2 separate regions of the Homo sapiens genome follow, and region 2 is linked to region 1. The links are contacts of gene promoters, found by promoter capture Hi-C in human tissues and cell types (Jung and others, 2019). All regions are on one chromosome and are shown on one strand. The core of a region is centred on a gene start or on the middle of the fragment in contact, and the rest is flanking DNA. Distances in the headings are between cores, read along the strand shown.

Evidence for each region. Contacts are between HindIII fragments. The study calls those that stand out against the background at their distance.
Region 2: a contact is called between a fragment that was not itself captured here and the fragment with the promoter of DPF3 in region 1, in 2 of the 25 tissues and cell types used here (dorsolateral prefrontal cortex and lymphoblastoid cells).

What each region holds. Positions count from the first base shown.
Region 1 is chr14:72,889,327-72,897,115 of GRCh38, forward strand. It overlaps DPF3 (double PHD fingers 3), which reads right to left and starts at 4,775. Exons shown (of 11, transcript NM_001280542.3): 1 at 4,731-4,775. The coding sequence starts at 4,762. RefSeq lists an enhancer at 4,735-5,029. The HindIII fragment of the contact is 9,541 bases long and covers 86-7,789 here.
Region 2 is chr14:72,627,748-72,635,536 of GRCh38, forward strand. It overlaps DPF3 (double PHD fingers 3), which reads right to left. Exons shown (of 11, transcript NM_001280542.3): 9 at 1,877-1,989. It also overlaps a transcript of RGS6 not described here. Among named protein-coding and RNA genes, the nearest start is that of MIR7843, 110 kb to the left of the region's middle. The HindIII fragment of the contact is 9,871 bases long and covers 1-7,789 here.

The DNA of each region.
Region 1 (7,789 bases), core at 3,525-6,024:
CATTGAAAAATAATGTGTGCTAATGAGGTTTGGAGAATTTAGGGCTTTTTTATAGTGGCAACCAGAAGCAGATGGAGAACAGGTTCTTGGGAATCTGTTGGCTTACAACGTCCGAGGGTCCTTTTTCATAAGAAGCTAAAACAATGTCCATAAAAGGCAGCAAGTTCACAAAGTCCCGGCCTCAATGCTGTCTACTTAGTACCTACCCACATCCCCCCAACCTCGACAGAAAGAGCTAAGAGGAGATTAGAACCAGGAATGTGACCCCCACCCCTTCCCCTCTGATATCTAAACTGAGTGCCACAGCAAGAGTGAGGTCTGGCTTCTAACTTTCACATGCACAAAACCACTTTAGATTAGAATACACTAATACAGGTCATAGAATGCACAAAGAGATCTAGATTTGACGTTCATCTACACACATGACCTGCTGTTTGACTTGGCTAAGTAAGTTTATTTTCTTCTCCCAGAGTAGTGTTCTTAACAACAAAACAGGGACATAAACACATACCTCCAAGCAAGGTTAACTCCTTACAAAAGAAAGTTTCAATACAATCACGTATATGTGTGTGTTCACAGTTATAAGCATGACAAAATAGTTTATGGGTCTCTTTATAAATAATTACTTAAGGTAAAGCCCTGTTGGTTCATATGGAATTTAATAATAATAATTTTTTTCTAAGTAGGCAATTATAATAATAGACATATATGTGTATAATCAAGTCTGGCAGAAGGTGGCAGACATTCTCAGTTAAATGCATACCAACCAGGATTTTGATAATACAAGAGTAAGTTGTTTAAAGTACTGATTGCAGATTTGGGGGAAGGTGGTTTATCTGAACTAGAATATTAAGATTCAAATTTATATTAAAAGCATTATGTGGCCAGACATCGTGGCTCACTCCTATAATCCCAGCACTTTGGGAGGCCAAGGCAGGCAGATCACTTGAGGCCACGAGTTTGAGACCAGCTGGCCAAGATGGAGAAACCCCGTCTCCACTAAAAAACACAAAAATTAGCCAGGTGTAGTGGTGCGCGCCTGTAATCCCAGCTACTCTGGAGGCTAAGGCACAAGAATCACTTGAACCCAGGAGGCAGAGGTTGCAGTGAGCCAAGATCCTGCTGCTGCACTCCAGCCTGGGCAACAGAGCAACACCCTGTCTCAAAAAATAATGATAATAATAATAATAATAATAGCATTATGTTTCCCAGGTATGCACAAATCAACCAGAACGTGACTAATCTACATGCAGGCCTTTATCAAATCCATATTTATGTTACCTGCATGTGTTTACTTCACTACCTGGGCCTTATCTCGCTTGTATATGTAAGAAATGAGGGTAACTCTCATACATCTTTGCTCAGACAATGTAGCTGCTAAATTAAATAATATGTAATACACATTTACACATCATACATGTCCACCAGTGCTTTTGAATTCTATTTGTCCAGATGTGACTGCTTGGTTGTGGGGGCCACCTGCCGTGTCCCCTTTGTGATCTGATCAGTGCAGGCGGCTCCTATTTCTGCCTCTAACACCCTGTTGGGCAGTAATAAGATGTTAAAGGCGACAACAGAGAGAGAAGCTGGGCTGTCAGCTTCAGAGAGGAAGGGGGTGAAGGGTACAACAAGGAAGAAAAAGAAAGGGAGTTGAGGGGAGATCAAAGACAGGCAGGAAGAAAGCCAAATTGCTAAGAGAGGAGATGTGGCTTCAGGAGCTTGGGACCCTAAGGAAAACCCCAAAGCAATGAGATTCAAAATTGTGCCATCCCATCACCCCAGCTAATTGAATTATTGAATGTCCCACGTGGAAAAAGCTAGTACAGTGAAAAATAGCCCATACTCAGCGTAGGCAGAGCCCTGCATAGGTGCTGCTGGAAATCTGAGCTTGTTTCTTCCCAACACATTAACTACCACCACTTTATCCCCCCATCCTGAGGAAACCTTTGTGTGACCATTTTCTGTAGGAGACGTCCGTGGTGTTGGCTTTTTTTTTTTTGGAGGGAAGAGAGAGACTCAGAACGCACACAGAGAAAATGCTAATGTCGTTCAGCTCTGTTTCATTGTCAGGAGGGACACATGAGGATAAAAACATAGCTCTCCAAACCATTCTCCCCGCTACCCCTCCTCCCTGCACCACCACCATCCCTTCGGCTGGATGTGTCTCTGCACTTTGTTCTAATTTATCCCATGCATAATTTATTCACGTGTGTATTGTTTCCTGATCAGCAACTTTTAAAAACAAATGAAATATATAAGATGTTTTATTAAACAAGTTATTTTTAAAAAAATAAAGGCAGATGGTGTCCCTCTCCCAATAACAACGTGTGTGCTCCTGCGTTAGGAGTTGTCAAAAACTGTCCAGGGTGTGAGAGGCTGGGCTGGTCAGTGGTATTGTTTATACCCCTTTACTCACAGGGAAAGGGTCTGGGAAGCAGAAAGGAATAGCTAATTATAAATGACCAAGCAACTCCCACCTAGAAAAAGCAAGCAGGGGCGTTGTGTGTATGCTAGTGTCTGCATGTGGGTGGCAACACAATTACAAATACATCACGTTGCAACTGTTTCTAATTATACAAAGTACAATTCAGAACTAATTCCACTAACCGGCCAGAATTCCGCCACCTTCTTTCCCGCGTCTGTCCCTTCCCCCACCCTTAACCCCACCCTACACAGACTCCCTCCCCAAACACGCACCCTACTGTGATCCAAAAAACCCTGGAGCGAGTAGGGGAACACAAGCTTAGAGATACTGCGCCCGCCCGCGCGAAAGCGGGCTCCCGGGTAACTAGGGTACGGCTTTCCCAGGAGGAAACAAACCTGGTGCACATGTGAAATAGGTTCTCTAACTTGAGTTTACCAGGTGGCATCAGCCCGGTTATGTGATTTCGGCTGGAAATGGGGAAACTGAAAATCAGTTGTGGGTTCGGTAGAAACAGCATCAGCGGTGTTGCAGCGAAAGCAACCGGCAGCGAGGATGCGGCGAAGTTACGCCCATTTATTCTGCCATAAAACATTTTCTTTCTTGGGTGAAACGCTGTGGCGTTCAAGCGCAGTGTATCCGAGCTTCCGAGCCAGAACTGAAGCCAGGAGCTCCTATCTGATCAGCCTCAGCTTCCAACGTCCTCTTAACGGCAGCTTTCATATAAATATATTTGAAACCTGGGGCCTTCCTACCCCTTTCCCTATTTCTGATGGGCGACGAGCTGGCGCAAACACGTCCGATTCTCCCTGTGCATTCCTTTGCGTTAGGAACCCCCTACCGTCCCCGGGAGCGAACCTGGTTTTCAACTCCAGGAGTGGCCAGGGGTGAAGACGAGAATGCGCTGAATTAAAAGAACCAGGGTCGACAGCGGCCACGCACCAGGGAGAATTCGGCATGAACCGCCCCCCACCCGACCTGCACCTCCCTCTGCCACTTCGCCTGCGGCTTCGTCCGGGCGGGGAAGTCCCGGTCGAAGGGGTGAGGACCCCCCAGCCCACCTCGGATACGGAGGGAGCCACCCTCTGCCGACATCACCCAATAGCACCCCTTTCAGAGCGACACTAGTTTTCCGAGGCCACCCCTGGCTCCGCGATCGCGAGCGGACTTGGCGGCTTAACAGTTCCACTGACTGGAAGGAAGGAAGGAAGGAAGGAAGGAAGGAAGGAAGGAAGGAAGGAAGGAAGGAAGGAAGGAAGGAAGGAAGGAAGGAAGGATGAAAAGGAGGAGGAAGGCAGGCAGGCAGAAATTGGCTGTTGGACCCGGGGCTGGCCCCCGCGAGTCCTCGCCCGGCCCGCCCCACTCTGTCCAGGATCTGGGCAAGCGCTCAAAGTCTCCCCGAGGCGGCCAGAGGCACCTGCCCCTCGCCCGGCCGGGAGCAGACGCTGCCCCCTCGGGCCAGGAGCCCCAAAACCGCCTCTCCGCCTGCCTCAGCGCCTCACCCAGAGGTGGCGAGAACACCATTCATAAGACCTGCGGCTTCCCTGCCTCCAAATCCACCCCAAGTTAACCCGAGTCGTTAATCCACTAAAGCCAGCTCGCTCGCAAATACACGAGCAGACACACGCTCGATCGCCCGGAGCGCCTCCGAGATCCGGGGGCTGCCGGGGAAAGCCCGGGGCGACCACCTGGGCCCCAGCACGCCCGGGACCCGCTGCTTCCCCCGCGGTGCTCCAACTCCGGAAGGTTTGCACAAACTCCCCGCGAGCGATCGGAAGGCGAAGAGCGCCCTGCAAACTCCGGAGCCTCCGCGGTCCGTCCGCTGGACCCAGCGGACCCAGCGGCGGGGCGGGGGCCGCGGGCTCGGGGGCGCGGGGCTCGGCCAAGTACACCGAGGCGGCCACTGCCCGACGCTCGCCCCCCGCCCAGCAGCCCCCGAAGCCGCGCTCCCTGCCCGCGAGGCGGGGGACTCCGGGGACCGCGCCGTCCCCGAGCTCCCGCGACCCTCCTGCTGTAGAGCGCTCGAGCGCCGGGCTTCTCCGCCTGCAACCCCTATATCTGGCTCTCTCTGCAATTTAGCAGAACACAAATGTAACAATTTTCTTCTTGTTAATTGCATCTCCTGACATTTCTGCGCGTTGGGGGAAAAAAAGAAGATGAAGAAGTAAGAGCTGAAAGAAGAGAGAAGCCCCGCCGCGGCTGGAGGCGCCTGCAAGCGCAATGCTCTGGCAGCGCTCGCCACGCAGAAGGCGCCTTTTTTTTCATATTGAAACCACGCGGAATATGTACATTTTTTAGTCTTACTTACGCTTTCAGGGGGTTGTGAATGACAGTCGCCATTTTGCTACAATGTAACAGAATATTGTCTCAGAGTTCTAAAGGTTCGCTCAGGGGAAGCGACGGGCCAATCACAGCGCGGGATACCGGCCCGCCGGCCAATCGGCGCTGCTGGTAGCTAGGTGGGCGGGGCCTGCGCCGTGGTAGTTATTAGGAGAGCTGTCAAAGCCCAGAGGTCACTCCCTTTTGTAGAGCCCGAGAGCCAGCAGGTCTTAAAGGGGCAGTACAGCGCTGGTAGCTCCTTTTCGGGCTGGGGAAAGTGGAGACGCACGGGAGAGTATTATAGTTTGGTTTAACTCCCTACTTTTCTAAATAACTGCAGAAGAGTTTGCGCTCCCGGACAGAAATATTTAAATATTGCCAGCAAGCCACTGAATCCTATTCATTAGCCTTTGGCTTTGCGTATCAACATTTTTAATCCCCCAAAGGGTAAATCCCCGTGTTTCAGTGCAAAAGTTGGAAGGCTGCCGTTTCGTGTTAACAAATTACTACATGTGCTCTGCCGTTTGCTAATGCTCTGGGTCCTGCCGCTTTTTAATATTCTTATTCCCGAAGTGTTCTCTTTATCTCGGCCACCTTCCTCTCTCGCTTCTTGGAACTGTCGCTGCTGTTCCTGGCGACTCCAGGACAGCAACTCACCCTCCCCCTGGAACGTCTCAATGTCAGGCTCGCTCCCTCCTGCAGCCAGGGCTTTCCTTACGTAGTGCAGGGGGGTTACTCTGCGCGGTTCCCCGCTACCACCCCTTCGGTTCTTCCCTCTACACCAGAAACTTCCAAAATGCTCAGATTCCTGCTAGGTGGTGGGACCTGGAGCTCTGATCTTTAGGCTTAGGGGTAGGGAGGACTTAAGGCAACCTTTGGAAACTTTCTACTGCTAGGAAGCAAGTGACTAGGCAGAAGTTGTAGAGCCTGGACTGGGTGTTATCAGGGTCCCTTTAGAGGAGTGGCACACGCGATTCTGGCGTCACCTTTCACTACTTAGATAGAAGGTGGAAAGAATTTGCTAATGAATAATCCGATGTGACCCGAGGCGTCCAATGAGTCTGTGTCTGCTTCAAGTCAGTGTGAACTCTTCACTGGCGAGCCCCTGACAAAATTGGGAGACTTCTGCGAAGTCAGGCTTCCACTGGGCACCGGGAAGCTCTGGGGGGATGAAATCGCATTAAATCGCGAATAGGGTAGGGGCCTCGTTAGCATACAGAAGTCTGGCTACCATTCCAAAGCTGTTTAATCAGATCAAATAGCTAAGATAGTGGGGGAGGGGTGGCAAGGGGAGAGAAGTTGCCAAATTGCCAGTTCTTCAAAGCTATGCCCTCTCGCTTCCTTTTGCTCCTCTCAAGACAATGAATAAAATAAAATAAACATTCCAGAATTTTAAGAGTTCAACTACATACACTATTAGATTTACAGATAAACAGAACGTGGCTGAATCACTATGTTTTTAAAAGATTTGAAATCTTTAACTCCTCTCTGCGTATTTAAGAAGCAGAATTGAGTTCTATAGATTCCTTTGTAAATCCTTTGCATAGCATCTTGGCAGAGATTACAGTTTGAAAAAGTTATCTCCTTTTCCAAAATTGAAGTTTGAAAAATCCCTTCTTTACTAATTTGACAAGAAATTGGTTCAGAAGCCTATACTTTGCCTGAGGTGGGCCTTGACATCATTGAAAAGCAAGAACTGTATTCTGACCCAAGAAGTATGAGTTTGAATTATCAGTTAGAACTCCCAATAACCTCTTTGAGGTATCAAAGACACAACAATTCAGATTAGTAGACGACAACGTATTTTCTTACATGCAGCCTGATAAAGGAGGAAATGTAGAGCATGTCCTGAACAAGATTTACAATGGGGGAAGAGAGAAAAAACAAATGTATATTACATATTAAAGAAAACACATACTCTAAGCATGTACATATCATTTATTGTGTTAAGGCCTGGATGCAGAAACCAGCATAATCTCTAACTACCTAACGAACTTGAAAATGTCAGATCAGATTTATTGATTGGATTGGAAAATAGTGAATTAAAGACAGTACTTTAAAAAAAAAAAAAGGATAGCCTTGCTTTTTGTAACCCAATGGAATGTCATTTTAACTCTATCAATACAGTTATGACTTTTAAAGAAACACTTATATTTAACAAAAGAGTTATTTTACTTTAATGTTTACATTATAGATCAAAATATAAAGATTTCTTTTTTTTTTTTTTTTTAACCAGAAGGTTCAAAAGCAAAGAGTAGGCATGTTTAAAGAGGACAGTATCCTTAAACAGTTTTGGAGAAGTTTGGCAGTTCTGGGGCAATTTCATAGTGCTGTACATGGCAGAAGTATGAGCTCTGGAATCTACCAGCCTGAGTCCACTATTTACCAGCTGGGTTACCTTGGGCATATTTACTTGCCAGGATTAAATGAGGTAATACATGTCAAGTGTCTGACACACAGCAAGCTTTCAATCCATGTTATTATTTCTTACAGAGATAATTAATTCTTTCCTTACGGCATATGGAATGTAGGGAATCCAAAAAACAAGGCACAACAGAAAGTGAAATTAGCCATCACATTTAGTTTTCTAAACTCATTAATCCAAGAAAAATGAGCAAATGGACAACTTGGATTAGAATAAAATAATAAATAAGAATGATGTTTCAATGAGGGGTCACATAACTATATAACCCTAAAAAAGGCTTCTTGCTGATTGTGATACCAAAACACTTTTTAAATTTTTTTTTTTTTTCTGAGACGGAGTTTCACTCTTGTTGCCCAGGCTGGAGTGCAGTGGTGTGATCTCAGCTCACTGCAACCTCCACCTCCCGGGTTCAAGCGATTCTCCTGCCTCAGCCTCCCGAGTAGCTGGGATTACAGGTGCCCACCACCACGTCCAGCTAATTTTTTGTATTTTTAGTAGAGACAGGGTTTCACCACGTTGGCCAGGCTGGCCAGGCTGGTCTCGAACTTCTGAATTCAGGTGATCCACCCATCTCAGCCTCCCAAAGCCCTGGAGTTTTTTGTCGTTGTTGTTATTGTTTTCAG
Region 2 (7,789 bases), core at 2,330-4,829, 260 kb before region 1:
ACATCTTTATAATGTCAAGTCATTCTATCCAAGATCATAGGATGCCTTTCAATTTGTTCTTTGTGTTTTTGAAAAGTGTTTAAAAGTTTTGTTTATATAGGTTTTGCACATTTGTTGTTAAATATATCCCTAAGTATTTCTTCTTTGTTGCTATTATAAATGGAATTATGTTCTCTAACTGGTTATTGTTTGTATATGAGAAGGCTGTTAATTATGTGTGTTAGTTTTATAATCTGTTACCTTTTATGTTTGAGTTAGCTTATCATTGATTCTCTAAGGTTTTCCAGATATACTATCATATAATACAAAAATAGAGTTTTATTACTTTGTTATCCATTCTTACATCTCTAATTAAATTCTCCTGTCTAATTGCATTAGGTAATGTCTCTAGAATAGTGTCGAATCATAGTTATAGAGATAGTGAGCATCCTCCCCTGGTTCCTAATCTTAGTGGAATTGTGCCTAGTGTTTTCCTCATTAAATAAGATACTGGCTTTAGTTCTAAGGTACAAATACTTTATCATGTTAAGAAGATATCCCACAATCACTATTTTTAATGTTTTTATCATAAATAGATATTTTAACCACACTGTTTTTTTAAAACTGACAAAGGGAAAGAATCAAGCATTTTTTTCCTGCCATTTCTATATGATCTACACCTGAAGGTAACCAAATGAAAGATTGGGCAAGTTTATCTTCCTGGAATTACTCCAGCAATAAACAAAAAAGAAATTATCCAATAAGAATATCACTATTTTGCAACCCCTAACAAAATAGTCAATCCAGTCAAAGGTCATCAATAGATGCTACCTTTACAAAAAGAGAAACATCAGGCATTATACATCCTGATGAAAGTGTACACCACCATCTATGAAGTAGTCTTGCCAAAAGAGAGAGAGAGAGAGAGAGATGGAGACAGAGTTGGTGAGAGGAGAGAGAGAGATAAAGACAGACACAGAAAAAGAGACAGACAATCTGAATCAAGCCTCTAGCCCTAACAATTGACAAGAAATTCAAGAGACAGAGGAAAATGTCAGACAGCACAGAGATATACTCAGTCAAATACAGTCATGAGAACTTGAACAAATGATCTGATTTCTTCAACAAAGAATTTAAGGGAGGAAGAAAGAGAATAAGATGGAGGGAAAAGTCTATGTGTTATTTAAAGAAGCTATATGTAAGTTTATATGCACCTACAGATATTTAAATAAACTTCAAAGACATATCAACTAATTGCAATGTATGGGCCTTATTTGAATCCCAATTCAAATAAACAGGCTGTAATAGAAACATTTATGAGACAACTGAGGAAATATGAGACGACTGGATGTTTGATTGTACTAAGGAATTATTGATTTTTTAGCTATGTAATATTTTGGTTATTTAGGTATAAAAGTAAGTCCTTATCCTTTTGAGATACATATGAAGTAGTTACAGGTAAAAATGATATTATGACGGAGACTATGGAGAGGGAGGTCATGGTATTTATGAAATAAGATTGGACGTGTACTGATCTTTGTCGAAGCTGGTGATGGTTTACATCAATTCTATTATTCTCTCTGCCTTTGTATATGTTTGAAATTGCCCATAATAAAAAATGTTCTTGAAAATTTTGCACTTATTATATTTAACATTTAGACCAAATGAGATCATATACTGTGGAATGTGGTGGAAACAATCAAATACATCCCTGCCATAAGCAGTGTTGACCACTGTCAGTCTCTGAGCCCTCAAGGGCTAATGGCCAGGTTGCTCCCAAGTGCCAGGGTAACAGGCCCCAGGGGCCTAGTGACAAGAGTCCTTCCTTCCTCTTCACCCCTCAAAGGACCCCAGCTCTGTGGATTTCTCCCTCCCACAGGGAAAGCCCCAAACTCACATCATTCTCTGAGGTCCCACAGAGGATACAGGATTTGCACTCTATGCACTGCCACTTGTAGGTCTTGACAGCCTCGGTCATGTTCAGGGTAAACTGCAGGCAGGTTGGGTGACCTGGAGGAAGCCAGAAACAACAGCATTAGGGCCAAAGTATGAACTGCCACCCCTCAACACCACTCACTGGAAACACATTGATGCCCAGTGTGCAGGCAGGGCAGGGTAGCATGACGTAGGGAAAAAAATGGGGACCCAAACAGGGCCCTACCCACATTCTTCACCACCCAGTTATTCAGATCAAGGGCAAAACAGAGATATAAGCACATCCAATTCTGCTTGCACTGAGACCATATTCCCCAGCAGGTGTAACCAGTTGATGAAGATGGAAAACAATGATCAGAGAGAACGAGAGAGGAAACTGCAGAGTACACAGCCTGGGGCAGCACTATGAGAGACACCAGTGGGACCCTCCAAGCCCCAGCATCAGCTATGGCAGCACAACAGGTAAGAACTATTTGGAGCTGGGCCTTCTGATCCAACCAGTTATTCACACTGCCTTAGGGTGCAAGGGAGGCTATCAGAAGGATTGTATGAGGTTTCCAGGGTCAGTGCTCAGGGATAGGATGAGGCATTGCACTGTTACCTAAAGTATCCATGCCCACACTCATGAGACTAGCAAAAGTTCATATCCTGAACAGTACCACGGACTACAGAAGGAAGTGGCCTGGCAGGGATGGCAAAGAAATGGAGCATCAGAGCAAATGGCCAGGTCTATCCTAAAAGGACTGGTTCCCGGTTCTAACTCTTTTCTCCATCCCAAGTTTCATGGGAGCCAACCCAATCACAAGATGAGAGAAGGGACATTAAGCTGTGACCTTCAAGCACAGCCCCCGTGAGCCATGCCCAAGACTTGGCCTGTGGAACTGGACTCTGTCCTCAGACCTAGGTCACCTAAAAGAGAGATGCTTGCAGGGAGAGGACGGCCATGAACTGTAGAATGCAAAGACCCTTGGCCTTCTATGTGGCATGGAAGGATAACTTGGATGACATTCCCAAGTCGCCCAGTACTGTGAAACAGATCAGAATCTGCCCAGAACACCCAGGGCAAAGCCAATTACTGACTCTGTCACAAAAAACATTGACAGCTTTGCCCAGTGCCGAGCACTCACCGTTCTCCAGAGCTTCCAGTTCTGCCAAACCCATTATATGGTGCCTTGTGTTGCCTCTTTCATTTGAAGGATTATATGCTTTAAAGAAGGATGCTAGAGACAGGGGACACCAATCATGGTTAGCACCGCCAACCTAGTATCCTCCACAGACAGGATCCCCCATGGCGCCACCACCCCTTGGCAAAGCCACATCTTAACAGGAGCCCCCATTTCCTCCCTTTCAAATCTTCAGAGAGCTGTTCACATCATGACCATTTGGATGAAATACTGTCTATTCAGCCAACATAAGGATCCTTCACATTTTGAGCTCCACAAATAGAAACCATGCTGAGTTATCTTGGAGAGGGCGAGGGGTGTAGAAATGACTTGTTGGTGGTGGGGAGGGGACACTCAGTGAATACAGGCAGAAGCAGCAAGGAGAGGCCTGATCTAAAAGCTTTTCAAGGACTTCTCAGGTACCATCCAACTTAGAGACTTCCGCAGCTCTGAACTAATAACCCTCTCAAGGTGATACCATCACAGTGGCCCCAAAGAAAAAGAAGCCTTACATTAAAAGCCTGTGTGAACAGCCAGCTGATATTCTTGAAAGCATCTCAAAGATTGGTCTAAGAAGAACATTAGCCAGGGTTACTCCCTATTCCAGTCTCTCAGAGAGAACACTGGGATGGGTACAGGGTAGGAAATATCTGTTTGGGACTCCATGTGGTATGACCACAGATGCCCAGTTTCTCTGACCAGGCACCACTGAGAGCATGAACATGAGGTCATGGAGCTGATGCTCATATAGGCAAGTTGACTTTGGCCAGTTCTGTGCCACACCCCAGCCACACCCAGCCAGCTTAGGATAACTATTCATTAACTTACGAAGTACTTATTGAGCACCTACAAGGCAGGCCATTGTGCTAGACAGAAAAGACACAGTGGGGATGAGCAAGATACCTTGAGCCCTTCCAGCCTAGCCAAAGAGGCCTCAGATTAATCAGCTACACATGTATCTATCAACTACAATTGTATAATTAGTGCCATGAAGGAAAAGCATAATTGGCCGTAAAAACACATAGAAGAACCTAACCTAGACTGAGATGACAAGGAAACCTTCCCTGAGAAAGATCTTTAAGCTGATATGTGTCAGATGAGACGTTAGCTAGGTGGGAAGAGGAGGATTCCAAGTAAGGGGAACAGCATGGGTGGAGGCTTTGAGCAGTGAAGCAGCTTAGCAAATTACAAGGAAGAGAAAGGCCAGTGAGCAGAGGCTTGATGAGCAAAAGGAAAGGGGTAAGAGGTAGCTGCAGAGGTAGCTGGAGAAGGATTACAGGCATTTGCAGCCCTTATTTAAGAATCTGTTTTTTAAGTCATTAAAGGCTATTAAGCAAGGCAGTAAGTGGGTCACATTTTGTTTTTAAAGGAGCACTCTTTAGCATGAGTGCTATTGGGATGAAGTGGTTCTGTATCTTGATTGTGGTGGTTACATATGTGATAAGATTGCATAGAACTGTACATACACATACACATATGTATTTGTACATGTAAAACTAGTCACATCTGAATAAAGTCTATGATTGCATTAATATCAATTGCCTGGTTTTGATATTGTGCTATAATTACATAAGATGTTGCCCTTGGAGAAAACTGAGTGACGAGCTCAAGGACTTTTTGTAATATATTTTGTAACTTCCTATGAAGCTATAATTATGTCAAAATAAATAGTTGAAAATATATTTTTAAATAAGGAAAACAAATAAAAAATTAAATCATCAAAAAGAAAGGAAGGTGGAAGGCAGATAAGAAAAAGGAGAGAGAGAGGAAGGAGGGAAGGAAGAAAGGAAGGAAGGAAGGAAAGAAGCAGGAGGAAGGGAGGGAAGGAGGGAGGGAAGGAAAGAAGGAAGGAAGGAGAAGGGAAGAGATGAAAGGGACAGAAGGGAAGGAAGGGAAGGAAGGGAAAGAAGGGAAGGAGGGAAGGATGGAGGGAGGGGAAGGGGAGAGAAGAGGGGAAGGGGATGGGAAGGAGAGAGGAAGAGGAGGGGAAGGGAGGGGAAGGGGAGGGGAAAGGGAGAGGGGAGGGGGAAGGACAAGAGAAGGGGAGGGGAAGGGAGGAAGGAAGGATGAAGGGGCTGTACGCTAAGGAAAGAATTGTTGAGGGGTGGGAGGGTACAGGAATGTAAGAATTGTTGCCAGGAAGCTAGTTAGGAGGCTAATGCAGCTACCAGGAGAGATACAAGAATGATTCAACTAAGGTGGAAATTTGAGAAATGTTAAAGAAATACTTGACAGGACTTGACTATTGTTTGAATGTTGGGAATATGGGAAAATGATGAGAAATAATCCCAAGTTCTGACCCATGAAACTAGGTAGATTGTAGATTACAGTGAAACTTAGATGAGAAAGACTGTAGAAGGATTGCAGGGACCACATAGAGGAAGAGGATTCCTTCTGTGTTGAGCATGCTGAAACTGAGAATTCTGGTGGAAATGTTGAGTGGATAGTTGAATGTATGGGTCGAAATTCAGAAGTTTTTGCTAAATAGGTGATAAGTGAAACCATGAGAATTAATGAAATTATCTAGGGAAAAGGGAATGAGGAAGTATCTAGGGAAAGAAAGGAAGAGGAGAGAAGAAAGGAGAATAGAGAAAAGGGTCTAGGACTGAGCTTGGAGGAGCTCAAGTCCTCCAAGATCAAAAGAAAGAACCAGCAAAGGAAAGAGAGAAACATGGCAAGAGGTAAGAAGCAAATCGGGTGAGTATGGGGTCACAGTAACCAAAAGAAGAGGTTTCAAGAAGGAGAAGGTGGTCAACTGTGTTTACTGCCACAGGTTCTCTAGTTTGTCCTTGCTCAATAAAGACCCCGAGTGAGGGAATGTTGACAGATCAGGGCAAAAGCTACCCTACTAATAATAACACGCTTCAGTCATGCCATCTTCCCAAGGAAGGAAAGTCAGCACATTCCAGAGCATGACAGAACTCAGCAGCCAAATGTGCATCTGAGCTGTCTCTGTGAGGAGGGGCCGGGGGTGGCGTGTGCTGCATGCATGTAGCAACACTCCACCAATATTTATCGAGAGCCAGCTCTGTGTCTTAGTTCTCTAAGACTCCTGTGCTGAGCTATGAAGACATTTTCTGGGATAGCTTTGGACAATGGATGGTAGCAAGTGGGTTTTGGAAATGCCTGTTGGAAGTTTCTGAAACAATCTCATGGCTTTCTCTGTGTTCCCATCTTGAGAAAGTCATCAGCCTCCTGAAGATCTTCAAACCCGAAGCAAGGGAGCTAAGTTCACACAGCCTCAAGCCCCCGACAAAATGCAGGACTAAGATGGGCCTTAGCAGTGGCTGCAGGAACTCCTTCTCCTCCACACTCAGGACATCACTCAAGCGCAAGAAGAAAGTAGGGGAGGGAAATACTATTGTAACTTCTCAGCCAGGGAGGGTGAGACACAAAAAGTTTAAGTCATCAGCAGGTGCAAAAACTGTGCCCAGAACTAAATCCTCCTGTCTGGACCACCATAACAGATTTGCTCCTGCGCCTTTCTCCAAAAACTGCAGAAATCATTTGCCAGACAAAACTGCAAGAATGAGACTTCTTACCTGCCACAAAAATTACTTCAATAATACACACTGTTAGACAAAAAGAAGTGTCTAAGGAAAGTAATAGCAGCTTGTTTCTAAGGTTCACTGGTCTTACTTTTGCCCAGAACTAATTCCTAAATGCTTTGAAAGTAAGAGAATAACAAATACGGTCTTTCCAATTCAAAGGTGAAAGAAAAAAAGAGGCACATGGCTATAAGGTAATTTGTAATACTTATGGTCACTTGATATTTGAGGATCCCTATCTTAATCTCTTTTGTAAAGTTAACCCTCATTCTCTAGGGTATTAGGCTGGTGCAAAAGTAATTGCAGTTGTTGCCATTAATGGCAAGTACTGCAATTACTTTTGCACCAACCTAATACTTGCTTGGAAATCTAGATTTTTTCATAGCCCCAGTTTTCTTTAGAGCAAGAAATACCCATATTGCTATTTAAATAGCCTACTATAGTGGAGGGAAGACAACCCTTCCCAGGCCCCCCTGGGTGCCATGATTCAACAGAGCATTTATAAGATTCCAATTACCAAAATGAATTTAGAAAATGGTGCACTGTGCATGATTCAGCCCAGCCGGATCATTAAAAACCTAGTCCTTCCCGGATGTTCCTCTAAATGTATTCTATCAGGAGCATTCAGTAAATCTCCTGCTAGCTTATTGAGCTGGGTCAGTGGTGAACTTGGTGTGAAGAGCCATTCCTGATTCAGCCCTAACCCTTCCAGAACTGACCTCAATCCTCCCTAGAGGTTGACACTGGGTATGTCACCCATGGCCACTATGTATGGGAGATCTAACTGCTGGAGTGGGCTTTTGGGAGATCAGCATTTGGCTTCAGGGTGCTATTTCAGCAGATGGAGGGAAAGGGAAACCAATGGGTTATGGGAAACTTCTCAGACAGATGATAATCCATGAGGCTGGGAGTACCCGGTGTTTCTGACACTACAGCCTACTGAGCTCAGTAAAAAAGGAAAGGCAGGCATCTGAGAGCAGTGACAGCAGCCTTGGCACTGGAAGGACACATCTCATGTCTTTACAGAAACATGTGCACAGATGCTGAAAATGTTCAAGGGACAGCAAATGGGATTTGTGGTATTTGAGTGAGAAGGCACACAGATAAATATCCAGGCAAAACTAGTGTTAGTTTCATATTCACAGCTGCCAATTTCTATGCACG